Regions from separate parts of the Homo sapiens genome. Here region 2 is linked to region 1. Evidence: promoter capture Hi-C in 16 types of primary human blood cells and fetal thymus (Javierre and others, 2016). All regions are on one chromosome and are shown on one strand. Each heading gives the region's core, a stretch centred on a gene start or on the middle of the fragment in contact. The rest is flanking DNA. Distances are from core to core; before and after follow the strand shown. Region 1 holds the start of AURKA (aurora kinase A). Region 2 overlaps FAM217B (family with sequence similarity 217 member B).

Evidence for each region. The method cuts DNA at HindIII sites, captures the fragments that hold promoters and counts their contacts. A CHiCAGO score of 5 or more calls a contact.
Region 2: a contact is called between a fragment that was not itself captured here and the fragment with the promoter of AURKA in region 1, in 4 of 17 cell types (non-activated CD4 T cells, M0 macrophages, total CD8 T cells and 1 more). The highest score is 12.6, in non-activated CD4 T cells.

What each region holds. Positions count from the first base shown.
Region 1 is chr20:56,385,802-56,393,464 of GRCh38, forward strand. It overlaps AURKA (aurora kinase A), which reads right to left and starts at 6,414. Exons shown (of 9, transcript NM_198437.3): 1 at 6,367-6,414; 2 at 2,355-2,401; 3 at 456-732. The coding sequence starts at 2,396. CSTF1 (cleavage stimulation factor subunit 1) reads left to right here and starts at 6,844. Exons shown (of 6, transcript NM_001324.3): 1 at 6,844-6,912. RefSeq lists enhancers at 285-1,484, 6,560-6,799. The HindIII fragment of the contact is 5,454 bases long and covers 1,228-6,681 here.
Region 2 is chr20:59,941,613-59,949,275 of GRCh38, forward strand. It overlaps FAM217B (family with sequence similarity 217 member B), which reads left to right. Exons shown (of 4, transcript NM_022106.3): 2 at 586-697; 3 at 815-900; 4 at 2,328-7,068. The coding sequence starts at 2,332. The coding sequence ends at 3,483. Among named protein-coding and RNA genes, the nearest start is that of FAM217B, 5.1 kb to the left of the region's middle. The HindIII fragment of the contact is 1,321 bases long and covers 1,760-3,080 here.

The DNA of each region.
Region 1 (7,663 bases), core at 5,164-7,663:
TTCAAAAAAGCTTCAGTAGCTTCCAAATGCCCTAGAGATGAGGCCCCATTCCTTAACATGGCCAGCAATGCCCATGGTGACCTCACCGCAGCCTGCCTCAGTTCACCCACTTCTCTGGATTTCCCCCACACTTTAGATCTCAGTCCCTTCAAGTCACTTACTGCAAGCACCCTACATCCAGACTCAGTAACAAGCAATCAAAAGGACACCAATTTATGCTGTGTCCTCCCTGGGTGCCCAACTCTTCCAAGAGGGTGAGAATCAGGTCTGTATTTTTAGCATAGGTCTGGCCCATGGGCAGACACTGTTACTTCAACCCAGACACCATATTTTCTCCCCATCCTCAACAGATATAAAAGCTAAGGCTCCAAACAATAAGTGCAAGTATATACACTGGCTTTTTTAGCAACGACGACAAAGAAGGACTATCCAATGAGTCTCAAAAGCTAGTTTACCAGGTGCCGATGGCAGGGGCTGCTTGCTCTTTTGGGTGTTATTCAGTGGCCTGGAGACAGGATGAGGTACACTGGTTGCCTGCAATTGCTTCTGCTTCTGATTCTGAACCGGCTTGTGACTGGAGACAAGCTTTTGTGCTTGCAAAGGAATGCGCTGGGAAGAATTTGAAGGACACAAGACCCGCTGAGCCTGGCCACTATTTACAGGTAATGGATTCTGACAAGGAAATTGCTGAGTCACGAGAACACGTTTTGGACCTCCAACTGGAGCTGTAGCCTAGAATGGAAGAGAAAATAAACTTTCTGGCATTCATGAAAGCAAAAGATGAATATATTGAGAATTTCACAAAGTTTGTTCTCTAGTATAGCAAAATAATGAATGTCACTGATAAGAGATGGAAGGTGAAAAGGTATTTTAATCAGTACCTCCAGAGGATAGTTAGTATGTGGCTAAGAATACCTGAATGATACCTTCTATCCCCTCCAATTCCTCACCCCTAAAAATCATGCTTTATTAACAAATATCCATTAATGAAGGAGACACTTTCTAAAATTTCTCAATAATTTGGAAATAGACACTACATTGCTATTTGGCAAAAAGCTATGATACAAAAACTTTATGCCAAAATCTCAGTTCCATTGAAATTTCTTTGATAATATACGTTTAAGAAAAAGACCAAAAAAAAATACGTCAAAACGTTCAACAGTGGTATTATCTTCATGAAGTTTTAGAAGAGTCTAAGTTTTCATATATCGAAGATTTTCCACAATAAGCTTATTACTGTACTATTGATTAACCAATGTTTCATTTTCCAAGTATTGACAAAATGGAATTGAGCAAAAAACTGACAAAGAGGAAACAAATGTAGACACTTCACAAAGTTACTACTAAAATGTATTATTATTATTATTTTTGAGATGGAGTCTTGCTCTGTCACCCAGACTGGAGTGCAGTGGCATGATCTCGGCTCACTGCAACCTCTGCCTCCCAGGTTCAAGCAATTCTCTGCCTCAGCCTCCCAAGCAGCTGGGACGACAGGCGCCTGCCACCACGCCTGGCTAATTTTTTGTATTTTTAGTAGAAACAGGGTTTCACCATCTTGGCCAGGCCGGTCTTGAACTCCTGACCTTGTGATCCACTCTCCTTGGTCTCCCAAAGTGCTGGGATTACAGGCGTGAGCCACCGCGCCCAGCCTTGAAATGTATTATTTATACGCCTGTAAGTACTGTATTACAACCTTAAATTGTTAAGTTAACTCTAACACCCTCAGCTAATCAAACTAAAAGGGGTAGGAGGGATGAGATTTCCTTCAGCTTCAACAGCTCATTGTAAGTGAGGGACAAGTGCTAGAAATGAAAGCCTCAAAGTCCATCCCCAGCTCAACGGTATGAGTGCTCTACAAAGAGAGGGTGTTAAGACTTCCAAATACAAAGTCAGTTACTCCTGAAATTAGCACACTGTCCACAACGCAGCAGGCATTCAGACAAAGACAAATAAAAAGAAACATTTTAAATATAGAGCAATTTTTTAAATGGCCGTTATCATAGGAACTTAGAATCAAATACAGTAATTCAAGGTAGCCTTTTTCTAATTATTTTATATTTATGGCCAATTTTAAAAGTTTTGAACTCCTGCCAGATGCATTATTACTATTATCCTGCATACAGTGGAGGGATATAGAAACTTAAGCAGCCGATTATAAGACAAAGCAGAACAAAAAAGCTACTCTAAGAAGCAGCAAAATGTTACTGAACACGAGAAAAGTGACTAATTCATATCCAGGATCACAGTAAGGGATCTAAATTTAAATCCAAAGTAAAGGCGGAAAGAATTCCCGACAAGACCAACCTCCATGTGGGTTTATAAATGTGAATGAGATTACAGATTATTCAATTTACCTTAACAGGTCCTGAAATGCAGTTTTCTTTAGATCGGTCCATGATGCCTGAAAAGAAAAAGAAGAACCTTTAATTTGAACAAAGCCACCTGCTTAAAGTGCTGTTGCTCGATAGGCAGCGTTACAGTTCCCCAATCAAAAGGCCTCCACAACACACCGGATTTTACATGTTTTGTCCAAATGAAGCTAATGAGGGAGGGACAGGCATGTGCTTTCCCTGCAAGGCCAACCTCCCCTTGGGCACTGCGTCCCATCCTCTGTCACGGAGTCTTCACTCCTGATGGTCTTGCTGCTCCATCATCTCTCCTCTAATGGATCACTTCCATCCCTGTGCAGCCTACTGGCATACCTGCTACCTTAAAAAAGTCCTCTTTAGGCCGGGCATGGTGGCTTACACCTGTAATCCCAGCATTTTGGGAGGCCGAGGTGGGCGGATCACCTGAGGTCAAGAGTTCGAGACCAGCCTGGCCAACATGGTGAAACCCCGTCTCTACTAAAAATACAAAACTTAGCTGAGCGTGGTGGCAGTCACCTGTAATCCCAGCTACTCGGGAGGCTGAGGCAGGAGAATCACTTAAACCCAGGAAGCAGAGGTTGCAGTGAGCTGAGATCACACCATTGCACTCCAGCCTATGGGAAAAGAGCGAGACTTCGTCTCAAAACAATAAAATAAAATAAAAGTCCTCTTTATTCTATTATCGTTGCTAACAATGACCCCCTCCTCTCCAACAGCAAAGCTCCAGAAGAACCGTCCACACTTGCCACCTCTACTGCTCCTCTCCCCTCCCCTGAGCCCATCCCCACCTGGCTTTTTTGTCTCCACCACATTGTCAGGCTCATGGCTGACACCTACTGCTGCCAAACCCAAGGGTCAATTCCACCTTCCCCGTACTTGCATCCTCAGCAGAATCTGACAAGGTTGATCACATCTTACACTTTTTTCTTCACTTCACTTCCAGGTTTATCTACCACCTAGTCGTCCTGTCTTTCCCTCCTTGCTGGGTCAGTCTCATTTTTGCCAGATCAAGGGTCTGGGGTGACTCAAGAACGAGTCCCTGGACCCTCCACTTCTCCATCTACACCTTCACCAGGGATCCATATCACCCAGTGCCTCAGCTCTAAATGCCTTCATGAGGACCACTCAAAGTGCGTCTTCTGCCCTAGTCTCTCCTTGGACTGTCAGACTTGGATATCCAAGGATTTGCCCAGGATCTCCCAAAAATGTCTGCCAGGCACCTCAATCCTAACATATCCAAAACTGAACCTCTTCCCTTCTCCACTTCTCACCTCCCTGTTCATGGGTGTGCCCTGAGCTCAGGCCTAGAATGACTTCTCCATCTCCAATTACTCCCTAGCCGAGTACATCCAGTCTCTTTGCTTTCAGTACCATCTACAGGCTGAGGACTCCCAAATATTCATTCTTCAGCCCAGACCTCTCCCCTGAACTCTTGATCTACATTTTCTACTTTCTATGCAACATCTGCACCTGATTATCTGAGCGGCATCTCCATTCTAACATGTCCCAAACAGAAGTCCTAATCTCTCCCCACTCTCACCTCCCCAAATCTAGTCTCTAGACATCCTCATCTCAGTGCATGGCAAACCCATCCTGTCAGTTGCTCAGGCCAAAAGCCTTGGCATAATAACCCTTTACGAGGTTCTCTCTCGCAAACCCTTCATTTAATCCACCAGCATATTCTGTAGGCTCTGCCTTCAAGATCACTGCTCACCACCTCTACTACTACCACCTGGTCAAACCATTATTCTCTCTCCCTTGAGTTTTTTCCAACAGCCTCCCAATGGCCTCCCCACTTCCACCCTTACCCTGTCATGGTCCATTCTTAACACTGAGGCCGGCAATCTCATTAACAAATCAGATGTGTTGATCCTCAGTTCAGAAGACCCCCATGGCTCCCAACTCAATCAAAACAATGCAAACTCCTAACCTGCATAGACAGGCCTATTGAAGTCTCACAGAACATGGACCCTAACTACCTCTCTGACTTCATCTCCTCTTCTTGTCAACCGTGTACCAGCCACACAAGGCTTTCTTTCTGCAAATAAGTCCCCTGCCATAAGCATTTGCACTTCTTGCTCCCTTTATTACGCTTTTCCCCCAGGTGTGTAGTTCAGTCTTTCATTTCACTGAGGTTTCTTTTTTTTTTTTTTTGAGATAGAGTTTGCTCTTGTTGCCCAGGCTGGAGTGCAATGGCGCAATCTCGGCTCACCCGCAACCTCCACCTCCTGGGTTCAAGCAATTCTCCTGCCTCAGCCTCCAGAGTAGCTGGGATTACAGACATGCACCACCACGCCCAGCTGATTTTGTATTTTTAGTAGAGACAGGGTTTCTCTATGTTGGTAGGGCTGGTCTGGAACTCCCGACCTCAGGTGATCCACCCACCTCGGCCTCCGAAAATGCTGGGATTACGGGCATGAGCCACCGCGCCCGGCCTTCACTGAAGTTTCTTATCAAATATCCCCGCACTCTGGCCTGGGCAATGGAGTGAGACCCTGTCTCAAAAAAAAAAATTAAGATTACCATTTTACAATTAAGCAAATAATTCCATGATGAAGCCAGGCCCAGACTACAGGCTGCAGCCCTTATAAAAAAACAGTGGGTAAGTAAAAGTTGATAAACAGCAACAAGGAAATGCACACTTGTGTTAATCAAATATTTAATTTCACACATGCTCTAATGCTTTACTTCCCTTACAATTCTAAGTAGCAGTCTAATGAGATCACATAGGCCTAACAACATTTATTCAACATTCTTCTGACAGAAGCTACAGGCATTTGCTCCAATTTATTCTACCTTTCTTTCTAGGGAAATTGAATAACAAGCAGAATGGAATAAGATTCTAATCCAGAATTCTGGAGACAACGCCAAGGAGACTGCCCTTCAGGTGACTCTAATCTGCAACCAGATTGAAGAACCAGATGACTTTCACAGGATCCATTCAGTTCAAACCAGAAGTCCTACTATTTTGAATAGAAAAGCTGTTAGGCTAATAGCGCAGGAGGTTTATACGGTTTATTCCTTCCTCCCTCAGACCTGTGCATGTCTGCAGAGATGAAGGGAAGGACGAACTGAGTAGGTTGCTGAAAAACGTTTAATTCAAGGGACAAGGAAGGTTACGGAAGAGGAAGAGACATTACGAGAGTTAAGGACAGTGGCTACGTCTACCTCAGCCGGATGGTTCTTAGAAATGGAGACTCTGAGGCCTAACCCCAGGTCTAAAAAAACAGATTCTGCATTTTAACGTCCCCAGACGATTTGTATGCACCGGTCTGCATCCCTAGTTCTCAATGAAACCTAAGAATCATCTGGAGAGTTTGTTAATAACTAGACACCTGGGTCCTACCCCTCAGAGATTCTGATTTACCGGGCTCTCGGTGGAGCTATATGTTTAACAAGCACTGCAAGTTATCCCGGTACAACTGCTCCAAGGTCTACGGTCTGAGAAGTACGGACCGGGAAGGCCTCTGCAAGGAGGTTCTCATTCATCAATTCACCCACTCATCCAGCCAGGACAAGGGCCTTCTTAGGCTATTCTATCTAAAGCGGCCCCCGTTAAACCGCACTCCTGCTTTTCCTCTGTAACACCCACCCCAGCTGCAAGTTCTCCGTACGCTTACCGTCTGTCTCCCCACCCACTAGAACGTGAACTCCAACACAGCAGAGACCTTCTGTGCTTTTCTTACCCAGGTGATCTCGGAGGACAAAATCCAATCTGAAGCCCACCCACCCCTCCCGCGCATGTCAACACCACTCAACAAACCCCTTGTACCTCTAGCTGTAATAAGTAACAAGCAGTATCCTACAGGGCGCCTCGGTGCCCAGGAGCGGATGCAAAGGCGCTGGGCGGGCACAAGGCAGCGCCAAGGACACTCAGGGACGGAGGAACCGACAGGGGACTTGACGCTCCGCCACTCCGACCAGCCGCCCCTTGTCCCCGCCGTCCTCGTCCGCCACTGAGATATCCCCCACGGTCTACCCACCCGTCGGCTCCCACCTGCGACCCAAGGACCCAAGTCTTCCAAGAGCTCAGCCGTTAGAATTCAAAGGTTCTTCTTTTTAAATAGGAGTTAAACCCTCTAGCTAGAAAGCCGATTGGCCTGCGCTCGAGCGAGGCTGCCTTGTGATTGGTTGACAACAAACCCGACGCCTTGAGTCGCGTTTAAGGGCGCACACCGCGCGCAGGCGCACTTGCTCCCTAAGAACCCGGAAGTGGTGGAGCCAACGGCCAGCCAGACCTGTGGCAGTCCCAGCCCCAGGGTGCTCTCCGCGGTCGGCCATTTATCGGTGAAGCAACAGCCCCTTGACGTCAAGCTTGACGCATTGGAGATAAAGTCCAAGGAGGTGAACTAACCTTTGAACGTGCCAGTAAGTAAGATGGCGAGAAAAGCAAGAGAGAGTGGGACCGATCGATAGCGCAGCGGTCGGCTTGGCGCCCTTTCAGCGTGCGCAGTGAACGTGCGCTCGGAGCGGTAGATTGGGCAGGATTCGCGCCTCCATTTTTCCAGGAGAGAGCGGGATACCAAGAGAACCGGACCAGCTGGTACTGGGACACGGGGAGAGTAGCTGGTGCGGTCGGCTGGGGCATTTAGAGAAAACCACAGAAACGACTGGGGCGAGACTGGAAGAGTCGAGAGTTAGCAAGGTGGCATGCGCCTCTACTTTGCGTTTCCTAAGTTGCCCGGCTTGGCCTGCACCCCTTCCTCTTCTCGAAGGGCCTCGCTTCCATTCCCACCCAGTCCTTAGTTCGCCTCTGCATCCAGATGGTCGCGGCGCATATAGTGAGGGGGCATCTGTGTTCTAGCCTTTCCAACTGCGATGTATCCGGTCCTGGATCGGGTTCTTGTCCTCGTGTGCTCACCTGCAAATTGGGGATAATTAGGCTTCTGTTTACCTGGCGAGTGAACGTTCTGTGGGAGTTGAGAAGTTAGGGGTGGGCCACTTAAAATATATATATATATACACACACACACACATATACATATATATACACACACATATGTGTGTGTGTGTGTGTGTATGTACACCCGGGATGTGCTCAGCAGAAGTGAAGAGACCGGATAGAACAGTGGTGTAGGGGAACCAAAAATGGCTTCCCTCCATCCTTCCAGGTACCTTATTAGGACTAAGAGTTAAATTCACATAAGACGAATTAACAGATTACTGCAGGGTAAACAGGATGTGCATGTAAAGCATTGAGCTAGCATACGGAAATTATTCGAGTCATATTAACCCAACGTTAACAGTAGAATCTCTCATCAACTTTTCTTTGCCAGACTACCCACTTGTGATTT
Region 2 (7,663 bases), core at 1,170-3,669, 3.6 Mb after region 1:
AAGAGATGATATATAATATGTAATATGTATGAATATATGGAAAGTCTTATAATGGATTGATGTGATAGAGAAGGCCGAAAAATTGAATGGGAACGTTCCTCCTAGAGTTTAAGCTCCTTCTGAACAGGGACGTGCATAATCATTGCCATTTTTCTGGGTACTCCTGTAATTATTTGTTGCATGAATGAATGATTGGGCAATGCAATGATTGAACGCTGTAATAAGACCTGACCTTATTTAGCCTTCCAGATTTCTTCAACATATTATTTCCAAGGAAGATTATACCTGTGTGTGAACAGGGAGAGAGAGAGAGAGATGGAATCCATTCACAGTATTTATAGTAGTGTGATCCTGTGATCCTGTCTCTAATATCTACTGTAATAAGCAGAAAAGACAAAGCTGTAAGCATAAGACAATGTCTCCCTTCCCCAGTATTTCATAACCTAGAGTGCAAACCACTATATGATCACAGCCTTAATATTTCAATATTATACAAGTATTAAAAAACAAGTGAAAAACCAACCCGATACTGGTGGTAGGACCATTTGCAATCAATAGTTACTGACAGTATTCTGTTGCTTCTAGTTCCGGTGGTGAGGAGACCTTTCCAAATATAAGAGGAATAAAGAAGTCACCTCCCCAGCTGTCATCATCTTCCAGCAGATTGAGCAAGAATATTTTGAGCACTACAGGAAAGGTAATGTAAACTTAGAAGAAAAATCTGACTTAGATTTATTCTGGGATTTTTGTTTGTTTGCTTGCTTGTTTCTTGTGTACATGTTCACAGTGTTTATTACTGCATCCCTGTTTTTAGACAGTCCATCAAACCCGAGATGATGATCAGCCACGTGATTTTTTCAAGAAGAGGAATAGGGTGAATGAATCTCATCAGAAAAGCAGGTAAATAGTTTTAGTATAATTGCTTTATCTTGCAAAAGACTCATTATCTCTGTTGTCCAGATTGAATATGTGGAGTGGGGAAAAAAGTATGTCTATAGATAAGAAATATACATTTATAATTTTTTTCTAGCAGAAATGAATAGAAAAGTGGTTTAAGCATAATAGTGGATAAGGATTCCAACGGTCATAATTCTGGCAGTTGTTAGCAGAATTATAATTTTGAGTAAGTCCTTTAATCACTTTTCTATGTTAGTTTCCTTTTATATAAAAGGATAGTGACAATAATTAATTTTTATGGATGCATACTGACAGGCAGGAACAAAATGTTTTAACAGTGTTATGAATTCTGAATAATGGAGATTCCTTCATTTCTTCATTTATTCAACATTTATTGAGCACACGTTGTACTATTGGCAATGATTTAATGTCCTGCATATTTATTAATTAAAATGTAGCACGTATTCAAATAGTTGCTTAGGTTGTTTGAAACCACTGGGCAAATGAACCTCTGAAGTTTCCAGAAAGCATGTTTACCACCCATTTCTATTCATTCTATCTGACTTATATTACAGAGAAGTATTATTAATCTTAAATGCCACGTTCTTGGTAAATAAATTGAAAAGAGGATATTTTCAACTCTGATGTGAGATTCAGCATCAGAATAAATTATGCCAGAGAGAATTAGTTTCTATACTCATAATGCACACAGTATTCATTATTCCCTTTACCTGCTATTCACAAGGTAACACTAAGACCCTGTGTTTTCATTCATATGTGTTACAGGGCACCATATGATTTTATTTCTGTTCTTTAAACACAATTTTCCCAAATGTGTTTTCTGTTTGAAAACATTGTAACAAGCTTTTGATTTAAGGTACAGGTTTGTATGTGCAATACTTTTATATATTAAAATTTCACTCAGCTCAGAATCGCCACCAATCAGTGATTAAACTGCAAAACTTGCATGTTTATTTGATATTTACACTTAATTTAAAATAGGTGTATAAAATAAAACTGTTTTTACTTCTGAATGTTATTAAATGCTTTTGATGGTAACAATTCCAGAGTTCTACGACTGATTTTTTCCAAACTAATGTTTTTTTTTTAAAGTACACACGAAAGTATGAAACAAGCACTTTGAGAAATGTTAATGTTTTTCCTAAATGCTAATATTTGATATAAAATGGAAACTGTGCATTCTCTTTTGTCACATGCATTATATAATGTATCTCAAATAGAGTATTATATGGGAAAATGTTCTGTAAAATTACTTATGCTTTAAGGAGTTTGGAAGCTGACATTTTCTAATGCCTACTAATAGCTGAGACAAAAAAAAGTACAACTAGAAGATTCTTTTTGTTTGTTTAATTATAGCCAGACCATTTTTTGTCATATGTGGTAAGAATTGCAGTTTTATTTTCTCACAGCAATATGAATGCTGGCCCATCTTGGAATAAAGTGCAACATTCAAAGAATTCTTCAGGAAAAAGGCAGAGTAAATCCCAAGTACCCCACGCTTCTTCCCAGCCGAGAAGCAGCCTCACAGCTGTCACCCAGCCTACTGAAGAAAAACTTAAAGAAAGCATTTCCCCGGAAGCAAGACGCAAAAGGAATCCACTCGGTTCCAGGTGTCAGGGGGCCTCAGGGAATAAACTGTTTCTTGATTTTCAGTCAATGAAAATTATTAAAGAGAATGCTGATGAGGACAGTGCAAGTGATCTCTCTGATTCGGAAAGAATTCCCATTCCTCCTTCTCCCCTCACACCTCCAGATCTCAATCTTCGAGCTGAAGAAATTGATCCAGTTTACTTTGATCTTCACCCTGGTCAGGGCCATACAAAACCTGAATACTATTATCCTAATTTCCTTCCATCCCCTTTCAGCTCCTGGGACCTACGAGATATGGCCCTGCTTCTGAACGCAGAGAACAAAACGGAAGCCGTGCCCCGAGTGGGAGGACTTCTTGGGAAGTATATCGATAGACTTATTCAGCTTGAGTGGCTGCAAGTCCAGACTGTACAGTGTGAAAAAGCAAAGGGGGGCAAAGCAAGGCCCCCCACTGCCCCTGGGACCTCAGGGGCACTGAAAAGCCCTGGGAGAAGTAAGCTAATTGCTAGTGCTCTGTCCAAGCCACTACCTCACCAGGAAGGGGCTTCAAAGTCAGGCCCTTCCCGAAAGAAAGCTTTTCACCATGAAGAAATCCACCCATCACATTATGCATTTGAGACTTCCCCTAGACCCATTGATGTGCTTGGTGGTACCAGGTTTTGTTCTCAGAGGCAAACCCTTGAAATGAGGACAGAAGAAAAGAAAAAGAAATCAAGTAAGAGTACGAAGCTGCAGCGCTGGGATCTGTCCGGCAGTGGAAGCAGCTCTAAGGTGGAAACCAGCGGTCACATTCGAGTTCCCAAACAGGCAGCTGTGATTCTGGACTCAGCAGATTCCTGTAAGGCCTCCAAAACACAAGCACATGCACATCCTAGGAAAAAGGGAAAGGCAGAGAGCTGTGGTCATGCCACTGTATCGAGTGAGAAAAAACTGAAAACAAACGGAGTAAAGCAAAACACATATAAACTAAAATAAATATCTAAAATGCTGAATTGCCAAGACCTGCAGGTACCTCAATGTTAGAGCGCTTCCAAAAGTCAAAATACTGTGAATTTTAAGGAATTTTACAAATACTGACATTTAAGTAGTTGACTGGCATTTTTGTCCACCTTTATTTCTACCCTGAGTGGGGTTATTTTCAAAGGGAAGTGTCTTTCAATAAGCCTTTCTTTGTATTGTCAGTCTTAGGCAAATGAGAGCCCTTTAGATAAAAATTATGTAAAATATGTGCCATATAAAGGAATAAAATGGCACCTCTCCAGGGAAAGTGTCAGTGAAACCTCAGCTACAGTAGCCGGTCTGTGTAGAGCAGCTAGTGGTGTTACCTCCCCATTTTCACATGCACGTAAGTATATGAAATAGTGCAGACTGTTTCAAATGGTGTGGAATCCTAAATGTTTAAAATAAGGTCCTTCTTGCCCACTCCCTCGCTTACTTTTTTATAAACTCCTCAAGCAAAATTTCTGTTCATTTTACCCTTAGGAGAAGCTTTAGTTCTTCCTCAAGTCAGGGAGTAGTGAGTTTGTATTTTGAGTAGTCATTTCTCACTAAGCTGGTTGCTTTCTAGAGAGACAGTGGAATCTAGTACTTTAATACATTTTCTCTGACATGGTTTTTTTTTTCTTTTTTGAGGGGCATTTTAAACTTAGAGGTGGTGGTAAAACCTACTTTTGAGTTCTCCGAACTGAGGTTAAAATAACTTGCAGAATTTTCCAAAGTCAATGGGCTTAGCATGATTACTGCTGTTTGGTGGGGCTGAGAATGAAATATTTGACATTCTGGAATTGCTGGCATGTAAAGCTTCTCCAGAGAGGCACCCCAGGGAAATCACTCTTTACAATTTGTAAAGGAAGGGCCTGTAAAAGGATCAAAACACATGGACCTACATTCAGTGTAATAGTTACAAAGTTACTGATTTGGGTTCCACACCCTGTGGTCCTTAGTCAAAAATAATGATCTGTTTCAGTTTGCAAGAGCAGGATTTTATTATTTTGCTTGGGGTGAGGGGCGGGAGAGTGGAATATGAGTAAGGTTGCTGAATGAATTCTAAACTCGCTTATCTGGTCTTCAGGCTTCCCAACTCTCTCCAAGCCTTCTTATTTCACTGCAGTTAAATAACATCTTCTTGTTCCTATAGTTGTGCTGTGAGTTTTCTGTTCATATTTGCGCAGTGTATTTTAATACGGCCCATGTCATTATAGTTGATTTTATCCCTTTAAACAATTACTGTATTTGTTTTTGACGTAGAGGTTTCAATTTTTTCACCTTGGGGGCAAATGAAAAACTTGGCATTTTTCATTTGGGAACATATAATAGCTTGTAAACTTTTCAGACAGCAGTAAATGTCTGAAAAAATATCAAAAACAGCATAAAGACAAGATTATGTAGCTCTAATTATACGTATATAATTATAAAAAACAATGTGCAAGGGTTATATTTTAAGGTCTTTTAAAATCTGATTTTGATCATACCAAATGACATAATATTTTTTATGGTAGCCTTTTACTTTCAAGACTTAATTTTCAGACTTGTACAAGTTCCTTCTTACATTCTTTCCCTCTCACACCATCCTACTGGAGAAAGCATACTTTTATGCTAAGATCTTACTTTAAGCTTTTTATGTGAACAAAAGATGTACATATAGTAAGTATTACTTCCGTAGTCCTCAAATTTACTATAACTTTTGTACTTAGTATATGTTTTATATTTGGAAAACAGCACTACGCTTAGTTTTCCTGTAGTTCCTGAGTGATGTCTGTGTGTTCCTTGCCTGCCCTTTTTTGTGAGCACAGATTAGTCTGTTATCCATGGCTGGCACTTCACTTATGATCCTTTCTCTGCTAGATTTTTATGCAGCTCTCTATGAAGTTTCATGGCCCATAGATATTCAAAAGCAAGATATTCTATACATATGTGTATATGTATATATACTCCTTATGTTAATACTAAAGTGTTTATGCTGAGTTGCTGCCTTTCCCCGTCATGTATCCATGTGCATGCTCTTAGAGACCTTGAATGGTTGAGGGTAAAGTGATTTATTAGTAATTCTACTTGCCTTGTGTATGTCTGAGCTGAAAACAATCGTGATTAAGAAATTTAGAGGTGGCTGGGCGTGGTGGCTCACGCCTGTAATCCCAGCACTTTGGGAGGCCGAGGCAGGCGGATCACCTGAGGTCGGGAGTTCAAGACCAGCCTGACCAACATGGAGAAACCCTGTCTCCACTAAAAATACAAAATTAGCCGGGTGTGGTGGTGCATGCCTGTAATCCCAGCTACTCGGAAGTTTGAGACGAGAATCTCTTGAACCCGGGAGGCGGAGGTTGTGGTGAGCCAAGATCGTGCCATTGCACTCCAGCCTGGGCAACAAGAGGGAAACTCCGTTTCAAAAAAAAAAGAAAAAGAAAGAAATTGAGAAGTAACGCCTCATAATATTTGTTCCCAGCTTTTTAAATTGAAGCTGGTTGCATAATCTGGGGAATAGTCATAATTTCATGTGTTATACAGTTTAAAAAGCCTGCAAAAGTGACTTTGCTTGTTTACTTTCTGCCTCAGATTGACTATTTTAACCAATATTGTCACGACTAGATCATAGCTCCTAGTGAATAACATGAGGTGTTTTAAAGTTAGGTCTATTACAGAATTAACATAAGCACAATTTTAATTTTATGATATCTGATATGCCTATCTAATACATCTTAATGCATTAAATGCTGCAGATAAGAATCTTGCTATTTTTCAAGTAGACAACATTAGAAAGTTGAATCATGAACTCATTCAATTCATCAAGTCAAAAGCACTGAGTGTTTTGCTAGTCTAGTGACATGGGTTATTGTATTTCCGAGAAGTGCCTCTCATTTCTGGGGAGTTGTTTACATATACCCTGCATTTAAACCAATTAAAACAATCCAAGTTTCTTTAAAAAAAAAAAGAAAAAGAAAAAGAAAAAGAAAAATATTTTAGGCTTAGAATTATCTAATGGAAAAAATGTAAAAAAGTACAAAAATGAACTAAAAGTATATCAGTATTTGCAGTATTTGCTGTGATTACTTAGGTTTAGACTTTCTCAACTTCTTAGATGACTAAATGGGCTGAAGACTTGTAACTAACTTGAATAGGATAGACTTCATACCCTGTGACAAAAAGGATGGGGAAGAGAATATCATTGGTCTTGCCATATACCTCCTAGCTAAAAGGAAAATGGTTTGTAGTTGTTCTTGGGCCTACTGTGTTGCTTTTCAGAAGGACATAAGACTTTCTACTTTATCTGATATGGATATCGTCTACTTCCTCATTCCTTTATGCTCACTTATGGAGTAGTTACATAGAAATATAACTCTTGGTGGTACTGTATTTTAAGGTAATTCAGAAGCAGTATGTATTATTTATGTACATGTACAGGACACCATTCAAAATGGCTTGAAAATATTCAGCATGTTTGTTATTTGCTGTTATATTGTATGTTTAGTTTTGTATGTGATAAACAGAATTGATGTAAGTTTTTGTGGACTTGAATTTCTCCTTCCTTGAGATCAATTAAACAGCAGAAAAATATTGTCTGGATTTTTCTGGTATTGTTTTGTTTTGCTTTTCATGCAGTTCTCTTCTGAAGCTTGCCTTTATTTTCTCCCTGGTTATTTAAAGGAATTGCCCAGGATGAAATGCTGTTACAACTCCTGTCTTAACACTAAGCGACATGGGTGGCCAAAGCACAGGTTAACATTACCGGATATATCAGAGAAGCATTGCAGTACATTTCTTGAGTCGCTCTTCCACTTACTACTCCATGTTGAGGATTAATTAGGGTAGCAGGATGCAAATTCAGTAAGCATAAATTAAGGTAACCTGTGATGTAATGAACTTGCACCTTTATGTACATATCCGGAAACGAGTACCATCTCTTTCAAGGAAGTGGCCTGGTTAGGAGATAGCAGTTTTGAGCAGCTCCAGCTGCAAACATTCTCAAAAGCCCTTTGCTCTTCTTTCTAACTTCACTCTGACAATAGGGTGCATTCTTTTGAGTCTACCAAATTGTGGCAGTAATGTTCAGTGGCTTAAAAAGTAAGTTTTTGGATATGTTTTGAAAATTAACCACGCTGGAGGTTTAAAATCTTTTTTTTTTTTTTTTTTGTACAGGAAATGTATTATTTTGGGCTGT